Regions from separate parts of the Homo sapiens genome. Here all the other regions are linked to region 2. Evidence: promoter capture Hi-C in human tissues and cell types (Jung and others, 2019). All regions are on one chromosome and are shown on one strand. Each heading gives the region's core, a stretch centred on a gene start or on the middle of the fragment in contact. The rest is flanking DNA. Distances are from core to core; before and after follow the strand shown.

Region 1 (3,824 bases), core at 543-3,042, 1.1 Mb before region 2:
TTGAGTGGAGAGAGAAGTAGAGGGGGAAAAGTTAAATGCTTTTTCTTTGTGTAGGTCTGCCAGGTATACTGTATGGTCCTGGGGCCAACATGTCTGGTAGTGGCTTCCTGATTCCCAAGTTTTCTGATTGTGGCAGACCAAGAGTTCCCTTGGGGTCCACTTCTGTGGTGTTAATATGGAAGCCATGCCCAGAAGCCCAATATAGAGTCTGTTTCTTCAGCCTTCTAATGATTTTGCAAGCACCTAATGCCTTGTATTAAATTTATTTCTGTTAAGAAAGTGAGATTGGTTTCTGTTACTTAAAGCTGAACCCTAGCCGGGCACGGTGGCTCATGTCCATGATTCCCACACTTTAGGAGGCCAAGGCGGGCAGATTACCTGAGGTCAGGAGTTTGAGACCAGGCTGGTCAACATGGTGAAACCCCATCTCTACTAAAAATTCAAAAATTAGCTGGGCATGGTGGTGGGTGCCTGTAATCCCAGCTACTCGGGAGGCTGAGGCAGGAGAATCGCTTGAACCTGGGACGCGGAGGTTGCAGTGAGCTGAGATTGCACCCCTGCACTCCAGTCTGGGCGACAGAGTGAGACTCCATCTCAAAAAAAAAAACAAAAACAAAAAACCAAAAACCAAAAACCAAAAACCAAAAAACTGAACCCTGACTGGTGGTCTGCTCATGTATTTTTGTCCTAGAGACCCACCATCACAGACTCCTACAGATTTTATCCTAGTCCAGCTCTTCACCTTTGCCGTGTTGTACCTGAGATGTCATCTCCATTCAAATCAGGAGGCCTAATTCAACTGCAGCATATTTCATCCACATCCTCAGAGAACAACTGTTAACTGTGTTTTTCAAAGATGCTGTGTTCCCCCGATCCACGTATTTCTTAAAAGCCAGAGTCTGCACAGTGTCTTCTGGGCTCTCACAGTTGGTGAATGAGTGAATGGATTCCACGCAATAATTCTACCCCAACATTCCTGTCTCCCTAGGCAGTCAGATTCCTTTTTCTTTATTACAAAAAGGATTTTCTAGAAATAACTTTATTTCAAATAAGCCTTTATTGAGTTCAGTTTCTGTCATCCAACTGAGCAACCATTCTGATCCACTTCCAGATATTTAAGCTAGTAGCTGAACTTCCAGTCTCTGGTGAATGCTTGCACATTAACTGAGCTGGTTCAAAAATTCATTCCCAATCCCAGTCTTCACATTTCTGCTCATACAGGTTAGCAGCAGCTTGAAATTCTCCTGGTGTGTAAATCTTTTTCTCTAAGCTTTGTCTTTGTAATTGGCCTCTTCCCCCAGGTATGCTGGCATCTGGCTTATTTATAATTCTGAAAGCAATGAAGGGTGGTAGGGTAGAGTGTGAAGATAATTTGGAGTTTGGAGTCTATTAAATTCTCTAATACCTTCCTGTTCCAATTCTGTGGGTGTCCCTCTTTCCTGATCAGTGCTCTAACTTTTATATAAGAGACTTGGCAAGGTTGTGATTTCAACTTGGAGAAGTCAATTTTGAGTTTATTAACTACTTCAGCATTGTAGCTACAAGAAATGAGATATTTTTAAAGAATAATTGTGGACAGTCCCTGGTCCTCTGACTGTCTACAGAATCAGGAACTTAGAACTTCAAGTGTATTACTCCTTCTCTAAGCTCTTCAGTACAGTTAAAAGAAACAAGCCCACTCCAATTTAATTCACATGCTGTGGGCTTCTAGAAGCTCATTTTAATCATAGCCAGATTTTCACTGGCCCATCTAGGCCAGATAACCAAAGTGATTCTCATGTCATTCATTCAACAAACTTCACTGGATAAATATGTATCAAGCTCCTTTTATGCCAGGCACTGTCCTAGGTGCTTGGGATATATCAATGAACAAAAGAGACAAAGATTTCTGCCTCTATAGAGCTTGCATTATAGGTAAGGGTTGGGCAAGAGCAACAAATGTAATAAAGAAATAAATAATACTATACTTGAAGGTGGTAAGTGCGCAAAGAAGTAGGGAATATCAAGGGAGATTGGAGTGCTATGGCAGGGTGGGGAGGAGAGCAATGTTAAATAGGATGGCCAAGGTTGGGTTCACTGAGAAGGTAAAACATAAGCAATGACTTTGCGATGGAATAGTTGCCCTGACGCCCTTCATGGGCGGGAACTGGAGCACTTTGTTTTTTGTTTTTGTTTTGTTTTTTTTTGAGACTGAGTCTCGCCCTGTTGCCCAGGCTGGAGTGCAGTGGTGAGATTTCAGGTCACTGCAACCTCCGTCTCCCGGGTTCAAGTGATTCTCCTGCCTCAGCCTCCCGAGTCGCTGGGATTACAGGCACGGGCCACCAAGCCCGTCTAATTTTGTATTTTTAGTAGAGATGGGGTTTCTTATGTTGGGATTACAGGCACACACCATCACGCCCAGCTAAGGAGCACTTTGTTTCACTCAGCCTGTTGCTGGCCACTCCTTGTGGGAGTGAGTGTGTGAGCAAGTGTGGGAACCGGAGCAAATGAACGCTGGAACCAGCCGGTTGCTCCTCTCTGGCAGGAGCAGGCTCTGTTCGGGCCCTGCAGCAGCGTCCCTATTCTTTCAGCTGTGCTGTCAGGGGATGGCCAAATACCAACCAGTTCAATGGAGGTTCAGGGTGGCAGCCCCTGCCTTCTTGGCACCCAGGTTCTTGTCTGGCGTCCAGGAAGAAGAATCAGGTCACATAAACTGTTTGAAAGGTGACGAATGCAAAATACTTTACTGGGTGTTGGGTGGCTCTCAGTGGAAAGGGAGGATGGAAAGGTGATGGGATGGTGATCTTTCCCTGAAGCCCCACCGTCTCCGGCAGGGCCCCTCTCCAAAGCTGCACCATCTGAAGTTAGCCAGATCTATCCACAGTCTCCGATGCTCAGTTGCTTTTCTGCTCGCCGCTCAGCTGCTTATATCCTCAGTGCTCAGCCGCTTGTGTTGCTCTGCCAGCTGAAGTCTTTTATGGGCACAGCATGTGGGCAGGCAGGCCAAAAAGGTAACATTTTTGGGGAAAATGGGGTCCTTTAGGGCCGAGGTTCCAGGCTTAAGGGTAGGGTTTAGCCAGGAGCCCAGCCCTTCTGTATCAACTTGACGGAGTGAGGGAGGCAGTCAAGCGTGTGTGGGGACCACTCCAGGCACAGCAGCTAGTGCTGATGATCATCCTAACACACAGTGCCTTGAGCAGAGGAGTGACAGGCCACTTGATGAGAGGCTGCGAGGCTAGGAGCAGAAACAGAGAGCCCAGTGTGCAGGGAGGTGAAGAGCCCCTGGCACTCAGAGTGAAGACGGTCAGAGGTGGCTGGATTCTGAGCATCATCTGAAGAAAGCACTGCCAGGAGTTCTTGAAGGACTGCATATTGTAAAAGAAAGAAGTCAAGGAGGTCTCTGAGTCTTTTGTCTGAGCAACTGGATGATAGGAGTTGTGGGATGGAAGTTGGCTGGTATGAAAGATGGGGAGTCAGTTTCAGACATGCTAAATTTACATTGTCTTTTGGACACCCAAACGGAGATCTTTTAGAAGTCTCATGCCAGTAATCACACTTGTTACTAAATTCTGTAGCCATCAGGGTTTTTGCCTGCAAAGATCAGAAGCCACACTCTGAAGCCAGTTTGTTAAAGGATGTTAGGTAAGCCATAGACTCTCCAGGAAGAACTCGCAGGGAACAGGTTTGAAGGCAGCACAGCCCGGAGCAAGCCCACCCTTGCCACTATCTGCAGGTGCAGATTCAGTAGCCCATTCCACTTGGCGCTATCACCAAACTTGTGGCGCTGCTGCTTCTAGAAACTGGAGGTCTGCAGTTATTCCTTCCAGCATGGATTCCACCAGGTG
Region 2 (3,946 bases), core at 976-3,475:
ATCCCTTCTTTCAGAAGAGTAGATGTAGGACAAGGTGCCCCCGTCAACTAGGGAAATAGTGTATTTTGAGGTTGAAAAGAAATGCTGTGAATAGGCTTATATCTAGCAAAGAATTGAATTAATAATTAATAACCTTCCAAAACAGAAAGCACCAGGACCAGACAGTTTTACTGGTGAAATCTACCAAACATTTGAGGAAGAAATAGGACCACTTCTCTACAACCTCTTTCAGAAGATAGAAGCAGAAGGAACACTTCCCAACTCATTTTATGAGGCCAGCATTGCTGAAACCAGAGATACAAAAGAAAACTAGACACCAATATCACTCATGAACATAGATGCAAAAATCCTCCACAAAATGTTAGCAAATTGAACCCAACAATGTATTAGAAGAATTATACAGACCCAGGCATAGTGGTACATGTCTGTAATCCCAGCTACTCCAAAGTCTGAAGTGGGAAGATCACTTGAGTCCGGGAGGTTGAGACCAGCCTGGGCAACATAGCAAGACCCCATCACAAAAAAAAAAAGAATTATATACCATGACCAGGGGGTTCATCCCAGGTATGCAAGGAGGGTTCAAAATTCAAAAGTAAATTAATGTAATCTATCACATCCATAGGCTAAAGAAAAAATGTCATATCTATAGATGTATAAAGAAATGCCACTCCATCCATCCCTTGATGATCACGGCAAAGGGCAGTGATGTGGTGTTGGGCAGGGTTTGTGAGGCAGCTGGGGCTGAAATCACTGTTCTGAGACCATCTTAAGCTAAAGGAAGCAGCTGGGTGTGAAACAAAAGAGCCAATCTGCCAAGAAAGACCATAACCCCCAGGTATGGGTCTGTAAGGCTGGAGGACCCCCTGGCCCTGAAGAACCACTGCAGAGGCTATCCATACCAGCCCCAGGGGAGATGGCCAGGGTTACCCCGGAGTTGCCACAGTCTCTGCCCAACACTTCGCCCTACTGTAACCTGCCCCTTCCACTCAAGAAACTCACGAGTCGCCCCTCCCACTCTCCCACAATCATGAGCCACAGCCTCATGGGGGAAGCCGCCATGTGCAGTGACATCCACTCCAGGGCAGGAGCACCACATTTTTCATCCAAAGACATAATTGCTCATCAAGCCATGTGCCAACAAGGCTGCATGGACACCTAGGGACACCTTTTATGTCACCATCAGGAAGGGGCACCTTATATAACTTTCCATAGCTTTGCTCACCGGCCTCCCATGCACTAGTTCACCATGCCTCAGTGAAACCCCAGGGCATCAAAAACTGTAAGGCCAGAAGCCCTTCCACTGGGCATAATGGGGGCATGGGGCAACCCACCCCTGAGATTAGCCTACTGGGATCACCATGAGTCCCTGGGCTGGAGACTTCGCCAGCTCCCTCACTTCAGACCGCTCCCAGACCAGGCTCTGCCATCAGCACCCTCCCCTCACCATGTCTGAACACCTCCTTACAACATTCTAGGACCCCTGCCCCTCTAGAACAGGGAGAGAGTTGGAACCATGGAGAAGGAGCTACCAGACCAGACTTCTGGGCTTCCTGATCTCACCCTCCAATGTCCTCCCCTCAGGGAACTTCCACCCTGGGGCACAGACCAGACGAGGGACAGAGATAGCCCATGAGTGAAGGAACAGCTATAAGCCCCTTCTCAAAGCCCTCCAGACACTTCAGCCTCCTTTCCTTGAGTTAGAGGCCCCATCCCAAGCTAGAGTCATTACTGTAAAAGGAGAGAAAGAAGAAAAGACAAGCTCGTGCCTAGCCTTACTTCCAGTGGGCCCTTACCCTGTGCCTGTCCCAGTGTGACCCAGCACAAAGGGGGACTGCAGAGGGTCTCCTGCCCACTGGCATCCTGCTTTGTCAAGGCCCTCACTCTCTGCCAGCTCTGCCAACCCATGGCCTCTGCCCCAGCCAGCACCTGAGGAGTGCCCACTGCACACCTTGATTCTAGCTATGCCCTGTCCAAGCAAGGACTCCCTGGCCATGTGGTGCCACGAGAAGCCCAAGCAGGAACTTGGGAGCCCCTCACACACACCCAGACCCAAAACCCACCACCCAGTGCTTCCCTTCCTGCTGCCTGTGCCAGCCCCACCTGAGCTCACTGGATCCAGCAGGGGTGGGGCCTACTGCTGTCAGGGCCACGTGCAGGGCCCGCCCGGAGGGGAGGAGAGAAGGCGGGCAAGCTGCTTTTAAGGCAGGTCTGGAGGTGAACTGGCGCCTCTCCTGACTCTTCACCTGGACTCTGAGTCGTCTTGGTCCCAGGAGCCAGTAGTGAAGGCAACAGTCTGCCCACCTGTGGACACCAGGTAGGTGCCTTTATTCTTTAAGAAGAGAGGAACACGGAGCACCTTTGCTGGCCCTGATTCATTTAAACATTTTTTTTTTTTTTTTTGAGATGGAGTCTTGCTCTGTCACCCAAGCTGGAGTGCAGTGGCGCGATCTCGGCTCACTGCCAACGTCTGCCTCCAGGGTTCAAGCGATTCTCCTGCCTCAGCCTCCCAAGTAACAGGGATTACAGATGTTTGCCACCATGCCCGGCTAATTTTCTTATGTTTAGTAGAGACGCGGTTTCACCATGTTGGCCAGGCTGGTCTCAAACTCCTGACCTCAGGTGATCCTCCCACCTTAGCCTCCCAAAGTGCTGGAATTACAGGCGTGAGCCCAGCCTCATTTAACCTTTTGTCTTCAGCTTCTCCATTTCTCAGGGCTCAGAGTGAAGGTGGGGAGAAATGGGGTGGAGGATGTGGATGAGACAGAGATGGTCTCAGGATCACAGACCGCGGAGTTCAGCAGTTCAAGGGAACTAAACCTGTGCCCCTCGGCAAATAGATGAGAGAGCTGAGGGCCACAGAGAAGAGGCTTGCCTGAGGTCATGGAAAGGGACTGGACACAGAACCCAGGCCTCTCGCCTCCCAGCGCTCTGGGAGCCCTCTGGGCACTTCAGAGGTAGACAGGACTGGGAGATGGGGCGGCTGGCCTTCACTGGTCCTATGGGTCCCTGCCTGAGGTCCACGTCCTGCGTCACCGGGTCTGGGTGGGAGGGATGGGAAGATCGGGAGCCAGTTTTCAAAAATAGGGGGTGCAGTGGAGATTGGGCTAATGAGGCAAAGTGCTTTGGGGGAGACTCAGGCTTTACCCTTGCCCCACCCTCTCCCTTCACTGACCTGGGCTCATTGGGAGAGAGTAAGTCAGGAGAAGAGGTTGGCAATGACACGGAAGAGGGGATTTGCCAAGGCACCAGGACTCCCCAGAGTCCTTGGGAACAAAGAAAGAGATCTGAGTCAGAATCAGAAGTGGGAGCGGGTAGGGGGCACCTACAAATAGAGCAGAGGTGGCTGGAGCCCTCCTTGCCCCCGCCCCGTGCCTCCCAACCACACAGAGCCCCGGGCCCAGGGACTCTCCCCACCACTTACAGCAAGAAAGAGCAAGTTAGAGGAGTGTGCGGGGCCGCGAAGGGGGCAGCATTCAGGAATACAGGAGTAAGATGGAGCCCTGCCTTGGTACATCCAAGGGCGACGCAGAGCCTTAAAAGTGAGGGGAGGCTGAAGAGGAGCGTAGGGGCTGCCTGCCCTTTGCTCAGCTCCAGGTCTGTCCCTCTTGGTTCCAGAATCCCAGAAGGGGCAGCGGTGGACAGGGTTCTTAAATATGTGAAGCAGCAGCAGAGGCTAAAAGTGTGGGACCGTGGAGCAAGACCACCTGGGTTTAAACCCCAATTCACAGTTGGGGTTGTATGACCTTGGGCAAATTCCTCAACCTCTCCAGCCCTGCAGCAATAGCACCCTCCTCAGAGAGCTGTTGAGAAAATGCAAGGTGTTCAGTGTCTGTTATTATCACATCCCCATCACACAGATGGGACAACTGAGGTCTGCCCAGAGAGGAAAGGACGCTTGCCCAGCGTGGCACAAAAGCTGTGTCCAAATTAGTAAGCAGGTATACTG
Region 3 (3,780 bases), core at 892-3,391, 1.2 Mb before region 2:
CGCCTCTACTAAAAATACAAAAAATTAGCCAGGCGTGGTGGTGGGCGCCTGTAATCCCAGCTACTTGGGACGCTGAGGCAGGAGAATGGCATGAACCCGGGAGGCAGAGCTTGTAGTGAGCCAAGATCGTGCCACTGCACTCCAGCCTGGGCAACAGAGTGAGACTCTGTCTCAAAAAAAAAAAAAAAAAGTTAAATATCTGGAGACAACTTTATTTTTTATTATTTTTTTGGTTTCCATAATTTGGACTTATTTTATTGATACTCATTAGTGAATAAAATGTTGATTTTTGATGCATTACAATACACTTTTTGGTAGTGGTTGCACAATGTTGATCATTTATTTGTTTACTAAATACTGCAATCTCCAAATTGCCTTTTTTTTTTTTGAGACAGAGTCTCGCCCTGTCTCCCAGGCTGGAGTGCAATGGCGTGATCTCAGCTCACTGCAACCTCTGCCTCCTGGGCTCAAGCAATTCTCCTGTCTCAGCCTCCTGAGTAGCTGGGATTACAGATGCATAACACCATGCCCAGCTAATTTTTGTATTTTTAGTAGAGACAGTGTTTCACCGTATTGGTCAGGCTGGTCTCGAACTCCTGACCTCAGGTGATCCGCCTGCCTTGGCTTCCCAAAGTGCTGGGATGACAGACGTGAGCCACTGCGGCTGGCCAAATTGCCAATTTTTACATGGTATTTCTGGCAATGATGGTGGCTCGTCTCTCTGAATACATAAAATGGTCCATTCAATCCATGGTTTTCATATTCCTTTGTTATTCTATCTACTGCTTTAAAATACATTCAGGCTGAGTGCAGCGGCTCACACCTAGAGAATCCCAGCACTTTGGGAGGCTGAGGCGGGTGGATCACGGGGTCAGGAGTTCAGGACCAGCCTAGACAACATGGTGAAACCCCACCTCTACTAAAAAGTACAAAAATTAGCCTGGCATGGTGGTGCCTGCCTATAATCCCAGCTACTTGAGAGGCTGAGGCAGGAGAATCGCTTGAACCTGGGAGGTGGAGGTTGCAGTGAGCTGAGATGGCACTACTGCAATCCAGCCTGGGTGACAGAGCAAGACTCTGTCTCAAAAAAATAAAATACATTCAAATAAAAAAATATAAGTTACTTGCAACAAGTGCACACTTAGAACAGCGAGGAGAGCTGAGAACATAATTAACCAGTACTCTTGTGTTCAGAGCATAAATAGTCTGAAACCGTGGGACTGAAGCTTGCTCCTCATAGACTTTCTCCAAGTATCCTTGGTGGACGTAAGGTTACCCTCACTCAACGGAAGGACACATCTGCTGCTGTGGTGGGAGGACACAGAATGACAATTTCATTTACGTAGGACGTTTTCCTTCCATAATGTCTGGAACAAGTCGGAGACAACTTTAGACCCCTTTCAGCCTGGAGTGGCACCAGTGCAATCTAATAACAAACTTGACTCACTAGCCTTTATCTACCATTCGTTTTCCATATAGCTGCTTTCCCATGCACAGTTAGCCACCCTTGGAAGTCTAACCTAGGCTGGAGCTTGGGGGCCTGGACCTCAGCCCTCTTCTGGGACAGGCGGTAGGAACCCCAGCCCTTGTTCTGCAGCTGGCACAAGAGCTGTGACTGCCGGATGTGGGTCACATGGCAGCCCAGGGGGGCAGGAGAAGCCGGGGGAGGCCCACTGGCTACCAGACCCAGCCCTGAGAGGGGACAGGGCTCAGCTCCCACGGGCAGAAAGCTGTTTCCCACACACAGTTAGCCACCCTTGGAAGTCTAAAAATTGCTGTCCTTTATCTTGCCTACAAATGTATTGTTCTTTGTTGAAGATGCTCTGTGAGCCTGAATTCTCCCATCTGAGTACTAACCAGGCCCCACCGTGCTTAGTTTCCAAGATCAGACAAGATCGGGCGCGTTCAGGGTGGTATGGCCGTAGACAGTGTGAGCCTGAATTCTAAGCTACCTCTCTGAGTTACTCAACTCTGGGTACTCTGTGTGTTAAATGTGTGATACACATGTTAATAAACTTGTTTGCTTTTCTCTTGTAATCTGTCTTTTATAACAGAGCCCCAGCCGAGGACCTAAGATGGGTAGAGAAAACACTTTCCCTCCTCTACAGCCCTCAGGTGGCGGGTAGCTCAAGGTAATGGTGTCAACAGGCACAAGAACAATGATGGAATGGAGTGAGACACCAGCAATGCCTGCACCAGCCACTCATGAGCAATTATTTACAAATATTTATTGGGTTCCTCCTATTCTTGCCACCGGGGATACAGAAGGGAGGAGGGACTTGTCACGCTCCCAGTTTCCTGTTTTGCCCGAGAGGCAGACAATAAACTGGCAAACAAAACAACTACAGATTGTGAAATGTGTTCTAAAGAAAATATTCTGCTATTGTGAGACAAAGCAACAAACATTAAGAAGCTGTGTTTGCTCCTTTCTGCTTGTCGGCACAGTTTCACAAAGCACCTGACTCTGTGACTAGAGACAGACGTGCAGCCCTCCGGAAAGATGCTTTGAAGACAGCACAGGAGAGAGCCTGAGGCCCTCCCATGTCTCTTGGCTGAGTCACTACTTTTCTTTTCTTCTTCTTTTTTTTTTTTCTTTGAAAGAGAGTCTTGTTCTGTTGCCCAGGCTGGAGTGTCATGGCGCAATCTTGGCTCACTGCAACCTCTGCCTCCCGGGTTCAAGCAATTCTCCTGCCTCAGCCTCCCGAGTAGCCAGGACTACAGGCACATGCCTGGCTAAATTTTGTATTTTTAGTAGAGACGGGGTTTCACCTTGTTGGCCAGGCTGGTCTCGAGCACCTGACCTAAAGTGATCCACCCTCCTCGGCCTCCCAAAGTGCTGGGATTACAGATGTGAGCCACTGCGCCCGGCTTGAGTCTTCACGTTTCTTAAAAGAGAAATAATCCTAGTCCCTGGCTTTTCTGACACAGAACATTTCCAAGATGACATCTGACGAGGTTAGTGATGATGCCTCTGTGATCTAGGACCCAAATCTTGCTGTGATTCTGCTGTCATGTAATTCTGAGCAAGTCTGATGGGATTTTGCACATACGGAACCTCCACCTTTAGCCCCCAGATGTATATAAGCAATGGGCTGAAACATTGTGCCAGAGCCTGCTCCTGGGCTGGAGGCCTCAATCTATAGTCCTCTGTAAGACTTCTGAATACAACTAGCATTCATTCTTTAAAAAGCTTAATTTTTTCTCTTTTATTTGACCCTGTGGTAGAGAATAACTGGGTCTATGTGTGAAGGGTGAGGAGCAGAAAGGGTAGGTCTCTCAGGAAGAGGCATTTCACCCAAGAGCTAAGGAGGAAAGGGGAGCCCACCATATTTGTGCCTGGGGAAGAGCGTTGCAGGCACAGGGAATGGCAAGGTCGGAGGCTCTGAGCAAGAGAGAACATGGCGTGTCTGTGTAAGGGAAAGGACCGAGAGGACAAAGAGAAGGAAGCCACTTGGCGCACAGTGGGAGGAGAACCTCAGGGCTAGCTTTCAGGGCTGTGGCAGGGAGTTCAGGTTGTATTCTAAGTGCACTGGGAAACATTGCAACGTTAAAACCGAGTGTGACACGGTTTATCTTTTAAAAAGCTTACTCTGAGGCTGGGCACGGTGGCTCATGCCTGTAATCCCAGCACTTTGGGAGGCCGAGGCGGGTGGATCACCTGAGGTCAGGAGTTCAAGACCAGCCTGGCCAACATGGTGAAACCCCGTCCCCACTAAAAATACAAAAAAATTAGCCAGGTGTGGTGGCGGGCACCTGTAATCCCAGCTACTTGGGAGGCTG

What was found. The method cuts DNA at HindIII sites, captures the fragments that hold promoters and counts their contacts. A contact is called where the count stands out against the background at its distance.
Region 1: a contact is called between a fragment that was not itself captured here and the fragment with the promoter of TNS4 in region 2, in 1 of the 25 tissues and cell types used here (bladder).
Region 3: a fragment that was not itself captured here is called in contact with the fragment with the promoter of TNS4 in region 2 in 1 of the 25 tissues and cell types used here (pancreas).

The regions. Positions count from the first base shown.
Region 1 is chr17:41,555,826-41,559,649 of GRCh38, reverse strand. No RefSeq gene overlaps it. Among named protein-coding and RNA genes, the nearest start is that of LINC00974, 3.2 kb to the right of the region's middle. The HindIII fragment of the contact is 8,519 bases long and covers 1-3,824 here.
Region 2 is chr17:40,499,902-40,503,847 of GRCh38, reverse strand. It overlaps TNS4 (tensin 4), which reads left to right and starts at 2,225. Exons shown (of 13, transcript NM_032865.6): 1 at 2,225-2,314. RefSeq lists an enhancer at 3,812-3,946. The HindIII fragment of the contact is 10,438 bases long and covers 1-3,946 here.
Region 3 is chr17:41,716,301-41,720,080 of GRCh38, reverse strand. It overlaps a transcript of HAP1 not described here and the pseudogene RNA5SP442. Among named protein-coding and RNA genes, the nearest start is that of GAST, 5.9 kb to the right of the region's middle. RefSeq lists a silencer at 2,330-2,624. The HindIII fragment of the contact is 4,495 bases long and covers 1-3,780 here.